Linked DNA regions of Homo sapiens: all the other regions are linked to region 1. Evidence: promoter capture Hi-C in human tissues and cell types (Jung and others, 2019). All regions are on one chromosome and are shown on one strand. Each heading gives the region's core, a stretch centred on a gene start or on the middle of the fragment in contact. The rest is flanking DNA. Distances are from core to core; before and after follow the strand shown.

What was found. The method cuts DNA at HindIII sites, captures the fragments that hold promoters and counts their contacts. A contact is called where the count stands out against the background at its distance.
Region 2: a contact is called between a fragment that was not itself captured here and the fragment with the promoter of ZNF704 in region 1, in 3 of the 25 tissues and cell types used here (bladder, hippocampus and liver).
Region 3: a contact is called between a fragment that was not itself captured here and the fragment with the promoter of ZNF704 in region 1, in 2 of the 25 tissues and cell types used here (adrenal gland and dorsolateral prefrontal cortex).

What each region holds. Positions count from the first base shown.
Region 1 is chr8:80,873,265-80,876,198 of GRCh38, forward strand. It overlaps ZNF704 (zinc finger protein 704), which reads right to left and starts at 1,517. Exons shown (of 9, transcript NM_001033723.3): 1 at 1,307-1,517. RefSeq lists a silencer at 196-396. The HindIII fragment of the contact is 4,011 bases long and covers 1-2,934 here.
Region 2 is chr8:80,926,805-80,929,738 of GRCh38, forward strand. No RefSeq gene overlaps it. Among named protein-coding and RNA genes, the nearest start is that of ZNF704, 53 kb to the left of the region's middle. The HindIII fragment of the contact is 4,418 bases long and covers 1-2,934 here.
Region 3 is chr8:80,825,317-80,828,250 of GRCh38, forward strand. All of the region lies in intron 1 of ZNF704 (zinc finger protein 704), which reads right to left. Among named protein-coding and RNA genes, the nearest start is that of ZNF704, 48 kb to the right of the region's middle. The HindIII fragment of the contact is 5,386 bases long and covers 1-2,934 here.

The sequences.
Region 1 (2,934 bases), core at 267-2,766:
CCTTTCCCGGCACCCACACCAAACAACAAACCCGACACGGCCTTTGAGGAAAGCGGGAGCCGCCGCCTGGGAGAGACGCAGGGGCCCAAGGCGCAGGCAAATCAACAGTTCCTCGCGCTGCCCCGCGCGGCCGCCCGCGCCGCCTGACACACCCCTCCTGGCCGGGTCTCTCCCCGGCGCCGCTGACCGTCCTCGGCCAGGCGCCTTGCCCCGGGGCCCGGGCCCGTCCCCCTCCCCGGGCTGGCGGGTCCCACGCGCGCCACCGCGCCCAACACGCACCTTCAACGCGCCCCGGGCCGGGCCCCTGGGGACTGCGTGGCCGGGTCCGAGGGGCACGAAACGCTCCTCGCCGTCCTCGTCGTCTTCGTCGCCGTCCACCACCTCGACGACCACCTCCTCGTCCTCCTCTTCCTCGTCGTCATCCTCCTCCTCCGCGCCCCCTCGGGGCTTCTCCTCCACACGCCCGAGCCCCCTCCGCCGCCTGCTCCCGCCCTCCTCGTCCTCGTCTTCCTCCCCTAGAAGCAGCAGCACCGGCGACGAGGCGGCGGCGGCGGCCCCGGTGGCCCGAGGGGGGCCGGTCCCGGCGCTGCGCGGCGGCGGCGGCAGCGGCGGCCTCCAGCTCTCCGGGGCGGGCGCCGGGGCCGGGCCCGGGACAGGGGGCGGGAGCCCGGGTAGGGCGGCTTCCTTGGCGGGCGCGGGCGCCGGCCCGGCAGGCTGCAGCGCGGCGCCCCCCCGGCGGCTGCCCAGGCTGGAGCGCTTGGCTAGACGCCGCGCCTGCATGCCTGAGCGCGGGGTTGCGGGCCGCGGCGCGGGGCCGGAGAGTTTGTCACCTCCTCTTCCTCCTCTGCCTCCGCCGGTGGCCGCAGGGCCGGGGACTCGCGGCCGCAAGGGGCTGCAGGAGCCGCCGGCCAGGACCCGCGGCTGCCACTGGCTGCAGAGGCGCGGGCGCCGCCTTCGCTGGACCGGCCGGCGGGGACGCCGGCGGCCGGCGGCTACGGCGGGGCGGCGCGGCGGCCGCGGGCGGGGGTGGGTGTGAGCGAGCGGCGCGCTGCCGCCTCCGCCGCCGCCGCCGCCGCCCGGGAGCCGCGGGCCGCGCTGCGCTCCATGCGGCCGGCGGCCGAGCCCGCGCGCGCCTCTCCCGGCCGGCTGCGCCCGCGCGCTCCGGGCCTACCGCTGCCGTGCCTCGGCGCGAGCTGTTTGTGTTGTATGTTTTCCACCACCGCCCCCCTCTTCGCGAGCCATTCCTCACAACCCTCCGGTCCCCCCGCTCAGACAAAACCCGGACTGGATTTTTTTTTTCTCTTACCCACAGTCTCCGAAAGTCTGGCGCTTCGAAGCAGTTGGCCCTGACACCAGGGCAAACGCTTAACCGCAGCCCATTCTTCCCTCCGGAGGGAGGGGAGTAGACTTCGCTGGAAGTAAGGTTGTCTGTCAAAGTTAGACTTTGAACGTAGAGATTTGCTACAAGTCATTTTAATGGACACTGATGTGCATGGCAGCTACTCCTGAGCTTGTGTGAAATCAAGGAAGGTGTACCAATCTGAGGTTTGGGATGAATTCCTAATATGAATCATCAGAGTCGCTTAGATTTTCGAAACACTGTTTCATGAGCGATTGTCTACCAATCTCACACTCTTTGAACGCACCACTCTAGGCCCTGCGATTGAGCTGCCTTGGCTCTGTGCTGAGTGTGTAGGTCTTTCAGCTTTTACTCCTGCTATTCTACCTTGAGTGCCTGATTTTAATGGCTGAATTCCAAGAAGCTTTCTGTTTGCACTGTCTGATCTGTAGACTCTCTTCTGGCATTGTTCAGGACTTTGAAGAAACAAATGGGTGGGAGTTCAAGATCGTTTGAGTTGGTTACTTAAGAAATTAATATGAAGTAAGACCAAATCTGGAAATCAAGCACATAACATGACTAATTTTGCCATTTTCTGACGATTTTTAGGTGTGATAAAGAAAATATATTTGCTATTGCGTGGGGTTAGGCTATGTAGTAAGTGGTATTTCTTCTTTTATTTATTTTAATTTTTATTTATATATATTTCTTTATTTTTCAGATGGAGTTTCGCTCTTGTTGCCAAGGCTGGAGTGCAATGTCATGGTCTGGGCTCACTGTAACCTCCGCCACCTGGGTTCAAGCGATTCTCCTGCCTCAGCCTCCTGAGTACCTGGGATTAAAGGCGCGCTCCACCATGCCATGCTAATTTTGTATTTTTCGTAGAGACAGGGTTTCACCATGTTGGCCAGGCTGGTCTCAAACTCCTGACCTCAGATGATTTGCCTGCCTTGGCCTCCCAAAGTGCTGGGATTACAGGTGTGAGCCACCGTGCCCGGCCTTAAGTCGTATTTCTTACATTCAAATCATACCCCCAATTCCATCCCTGTAGAGGAGGGCTGGGGAGGATCTTACGCATCAAATACCCTGGTAGGCACCTCCGTGGGGCCAGAATAAAAGGTGTATTCACCTTCAGTTAATTATTGTTGGACATTTAACATCATATGCTCTGTTAGACACTTGAATGGGGCTCATTAAATGCTCACTTATGGTGGCTTCCAACTGTTGAACAGGGATGATGACAAAGATTCTAAAATGAACTTTTTGTTCTCCCTGAATCAGATTAGCTTCCTGATGTACCTATTTCAGGTGATGAAACTCTCATTATAATCATTTGAGCCCAAAATAGCGGTATCATTTTAACTCCCTTCTCTACCTTATCCCTAGAGGCAATTGCCCACAAGTCCAACCCATTGTTCTTTCTAAAATGCATTTTGAATCCACCCCTTCCTTTCCATTCCCAAAGCTCTTACAGCATTTTGTGACTTCAAAAGTGGAAGTTTCTAACAGTTCTACACACCCATTTTCTCACCCACACACCCTCCCTTTCCCTCCTCAGATGCCACCACCAGATTTATGTTTCCGAAACCCCATTT
Region 2 (2,934 bases), core at 321-2,820, 54 kb after region 1:
GGTGAGCCCTGAATCTCTCTATTGCCTCAATCCATACAGCCTCACTGTGCCAAGTGGAAGCAGTGGCAGTGTGTGTATGTGTGTGTGTTATTCAAACAGTTAAAAAAAAAAAAAAGACAGAAGGCTTAGGCAGATTTCCAGAAAACAGACTGTGTCAGTCTAGACTAGTAAAACCCAGCCAGTTTAATTTCTGAATTTGTGGTTATTATTTCTGAATTTATTTTGTATTTAACCTACTTCCCCCTTGCCGCATCCCCACAAAAAAAGAGTAAAAAGGTGAGAAAAATGACCAACCAGTTTCAACCACTATCCTGGCATCATGAAAGTTAAAATTCCAAAGATTAGAGATTATATATTGCTCCTATGAAAAATAACCTTTGTGTGAATCTTTAAAGATTCCTACTTTTTAAAAAAATAGCAAAAGCAGCATATGTTATTGTTGAAACTTCAGAAAAAAAATAAGCGAAAACAAGAAAATTGAAACCATGTATAATTTCACCATCTAGACATAAGATTACATGGTTTTGTTAAGTAAGAATCGGCCTTGAGTTAGGTAGAACGGAGTTCAAATTGTGGGCCTACCTGTGTGATTCAGAGCAAGTTAACCTCACTGAGCATTGAACTTCTCTCCATAAAGTGAGACATAGCTATAGGGGTGTGGAGGGTTGCAGTAAAATTCTGGACACAAAAGTAATTGCTGATTGATAATATCTGTATTGTATCCCCTAAACTACTGATCATATTTCATTATTAATTTCATACTACCTGCAGTTTCAGAAAATGAGCTCATTAAATTTTTCTCACATTCCTTTCTTTGTTATATTGCCATGACACAAATTTACAGCTTCAGTCTTCTGCTTTATTGTTTCTATTGCCTATACTTGTCTGGAGTAAGATGTACACAGAGCCATATTTTTATAGTGAGTAAGCCTGATTTCAGTGCTTTATTATTTTTTGGCAGTGAATGATGTTGCAGCAAGTCTGAAACCAACTTGATTTTCTTCCTTCTAGGTAATTTATCTTGCCTGGCAGGTGCCTGAAGATTTTCTTCAAGTTCAATACTGTACATAGGGTAAACTTTGATATTAACTGAATTGGAATGTTCCTGGAACATGGTTCAATTTTATCTGCAGTTTCAGTGATATCTTAAAATTCAGATAATTCTCTTATATCTTTGAATATATCTTCTATTTTGTGGTTTTTCAATTCAGATACATCAATTCTTCTTATATTGGATTATGTTTATCTACCACATATATTGTCTCCTATTTAATTTTTTTATTTGCGATATTGTCAGTAATTTAATATTCACCAGTTTTTATTGTTTTAATTTTATATTAGCTCTATAATGTTGTATTTTATAAGAAATTCTTTTTAAAATCTCATTTTCTTGTTGCCTTACTGATTTGATATTTTTATTCCAATTTACTCTAGCAAGAAATGAGTGTGATTAATATGCTTCTATTGGCTTAAGTTAAATTTTTAGGGGCGGGTGTGTTGGCTCACACCTGTAATCCTAGCACCTTGGGAGGCCGAGGTAGGTGGATCACCTGAGGTCAGGAGTTCAAGACCAACCTGGCCAACATGATGAAACCCCATCTCTATTAAATATACAAAAATTAGCCAGGTGTGGTGGTGCGTGCCTGTAATCCCACCGACTTGGGAGGCTGAGGAAGGAGAATCGCTTGACCTGGGAGGTAGAGGTTGCAGTGAGCCGAGATCATGCCACTGCACTCCAGCCTGCATGACGGGAGTAAGACTCCACCTCAAAAAAAAAAAAAAAAGTGTTAGCTAGGTTAGGCTTTGTGTCTTCTGCATACTATAATCCCTTTTTTTTTTTATTTTCTTCTGCTCAGTGGTTTTTTTTTTTTTTGGTCAAAAAGTTATTTTATTGTATTATTTTATTTATTATTAATCAAACTTTTTATTTTGAGATAATTTAGATTCACATGTGGTTGTAAAAAGTAATACAGAGAAATTCTGTGTATCCTTTGTCAATTTCCCTCAATGATAACATCTTGTAAAACTGTAATACGACATTAAGACTAGCATATTGACATTGATACAAATCTTACTCAGATTTTCTCCATTTTACTTGGGCTTATGTGTGTGTCTATGTCTGTGCATGTGTGTGTTTGTATTTAGCACTATGCAATTTTTATTGCCTGTGTAGGCTGGCATATTTACCACCAAAGTCAAAATACAGAATGGCTTCACCACCATGAGGATACAGTAGGTTGTCCTTTGTAACCATAATTGACTATTTTGGACATTTTATATAAATGGAATAATGTAATATATGGTCCTTTGTGACTGGCCTCTTCCATTTAGCATAATGTTCCAGGGTTCATCTCTATTGTAGCACTTTCCACTGCTTCATTCCTTTTTATTGCTGAATAACATTTCACTTTATTGATATACCATATTTTGTTTATTTATTCATTAGTTAATGGACATTTGAGTTGTTTCCACTTTTTGGCTATTATGAGTAATACTAATGCGAACATTCATGTACAAGTTTTGGTGTGGTCCTATGTTTTCATTTCTTTTGGGTTGATACCTACGAGTAGTGCCGCTGGGTGATACGGTAACTCTATGTTTAACTCTTTGAGGAACTGACAGAGTGTGTTCTAAAGTGGCTGCACCACCTCACATCCTCACTCGCAGTGTATGAAGCTTCCAATTTCTCCACATTATCTGTTTGTTGTTCTTTTTTGAGACAGGGTCTCATTCTGTCACTCAGGCTGGAGTGCAGTGGTGCGATCTCGGCTCACTGTAACTTCTGCCTCCCAGGTTCAAATGATTTTCTTACCTCAGCCTCCTGAGCAGCTGGGACTACAGGTACACCCCCACACCTGGCTAATTTTTGTATTTTTAGTAGAGACGGGGTTTTAGCATGTTGGTCAGACTGGTCTTTAATTCCTGGCCTCAAGT
Region 3 (2,934 bases), core at 131-2,630, 48 kb before region 1:
AAGAGACAAGGAAGGCCATTACATAATGGTAAAGGGATCAATTCAACAAGAAGAGCTAACTATCCTAAATATTTATATACCCAATACAGGAGCACCCAGATTCATAAAGCAAGTCCTTAGAGACTTACAAAGAGACTTAGACTCCCACACAATAATAATGGGAGACTTTAACACCCCACTGTCAATGTTAGACAGATCAACAAGACAGAAAGTTAACAAGGATATTCAGGAATTGAACTCAGCTCTGCACCAAGCAGACCTAATAGACATCTACAGAACTCTCCACCCCAAATCAACAGAATATACACTCTTCTCAGCACCACACTGCACTTATTCCGAAATTGACCACATAGTTGGAAGTAAAGCACTCCTCAGCAAATGTAAAAGAACAGAAATTATAACAAACTGTCTCTCAGACCACAGTGCAATCAAACTAGAACTCAGGATTAAGAAACTCACTCAAAACCACTCAACTACATGGAAACTGAACACCCTGCTCCTGAATGACTACTGGGTACATCACGAAATGAAGGGAGAAATAAAGATGTTCTTTGAAACCAATGAGAACAAAGACACCACATACAAGAACCTCTGGGACACATTTAAAGCAGTGTCTGGAGGGAAATTTATTGCACTAAATGCCAACAAGAGAAAGAAGGAAAGATCTAAAATTGACACCCTAACATCACAATTAAAAGAACTAGAGAAGCAAGAGCAAACACATCCAAAAGCTAGCAGAAGGCAAGAAATAACTAAGATCAGAGCAGAACTGAAAGAAATAGAGACACAAAAAACCCTTCAAAAAAATCAATGAATCCAGGAGGTGGTTTTTTGAAAAGATCAACAAAATTGATAGACCACTAGCAAGACTAACAAAGAAGAAAAGAGAGAAGAATCAAATAGACACAATAAAAAATCATAAAGGAGATATCACCACCGATCCCACAGAAATACAAACTACCATCAGAGAATACTATAAACACCTCTATGCAAATAAACTAGAAAATCTAGAAGAAATGGATAAATAACTGGACACATATACCCTCCCAAGACTAAACCAGGAAGAAGTTGAATCCCTGAATAGACCAATAACAGGCTCTGAAATTGACGCAATAATAGCCTACAAACCAAAAAAAGTCCAGGAACAGACGGATTCACAGGCGAATTCTACCAGAGGTACAAAGAGGAGCTGGTACCATTCCTTCTGAAACTATTCCAATCAATAGAAAAAGAGGGAATCCTCCCTAACTCATTTTATGAGGCCAGCATCATCCTGATACCAAAGCCGGGCAGAGACACAACAAAAAAGGAGAATTTTAGACCAATATCCCTGATGAACATCAATGCAAAAATCCTCAGTAAAATACTGGCAAACCGAATCCAGCAGCATATCACAAAGCTTATCCACCACAAGCAAGTTGGCTTCATCCCTGGGATGCAAGGCTGGTTCAACATACACAAATCAATAAATGTAATCCATCATATAAACAGAACCAAAGAAAAAAACCACATGATTATCTCAATAGATGCAGAAAAGGCCTTTAACAAAATTCAACAACCCTTCATGCTAAAAACTCTCAATAAATTAGGTATTGATGGGACATATCTCAAAATAATAAGAGCTATTTATGACAAACCCACAGCGAATATCATACTGAGTGGGCAAAAACTGGAAGCATTCCCTTTGCAAACTGGCACAAGACATGGATGCCCTCTCTCTCCACTCCTATTCAACACAGTGTTGGAAGTTCTGGCCAGGGCAATCAGGCAGAAGAAAGAAATAAAGGGCATTCAATTAGGAAAAGAGGAAGCCAAATTGTCCCTGTTTGCAGATGACATCATTGTATATTTAGAAAACCCCATCATCTCAGCCCAAAATCTCCTTAAGCTGATAAGCAACTTCAGGAAAGTGTCAGGATACAAAATCAATGTGCAAAAATCACAAGCATTCCTATACACCAATAACAGACAAACAGCCAAATCATGAGTGAATTCCCATTCACAATTACTTCAAAGAGAATAAAATATCTAGGAATCCAACTTACAAGGGATGTGAAGGACCTCTTCAAGGAGAGTTACAAACCACTGCTCAACAAAATAGAAGAGGACACAAACAAATGGAAGAATATTCCATGCTCATGGATAGGAAGAATCAATATCATGAAAATGGCCATACTGCCCAAGGTAATTTATAGATTCAATGCCATCCCTATCAAGCTACCAAGACTTTCTTCACAGAATTGGAAAAAAACTACTTTAAAGTTCATATGGAACCAAAAAAGAGCCCACATTGCCAAGTCAATCCTAAGCCAAAAGAACAAGGCTGGAGGCATCACGCTACCTGACTTCAAACTATACTACAAGGCTACAGTAACCAGAACAGCATGGTGCTGGTACCAAAACAGAGATATAGACCAATGGAACAGAACAGAGCCCTCAGAAATAATACCACACATCTACAACCATCTGATCTTTGACAAAACTGACAAAAGCAAGAAATGGGGAAAGGATTCCCTATTTAGTAAATGGTGCTGGGAAAACTGGCTAGCCATATGTAGAAAGCTGAAACTGGATCCCTTCCTTACACCTTATACAAAAATTATTTCAAGATGGATTAAAGACTTCAATGTTAGACCTAAAACCATAAAAACCCTAGAAGAAAACCTAGGCAATACGATTCAGGACATAGGCATGGGCAAGGACTTCATGACTAAAACACCAAAAGCAAGAAAATTTTGGCAACAAAAGCCATAATTGACAAATGGGATCTAACTAAACTAAAGAGCTTCTGCAGAGCAAAAGAAACTACCATCAGAGTGAACAGGCAACCTACAGAATGGGAGAAAATTTTTACAATCTACTCAGCAGTTAAGATTTTAACAAAATCCCTTCTAAGGCCCTATGATAAAGAAGTCAGAATAATTTTTCCTATCA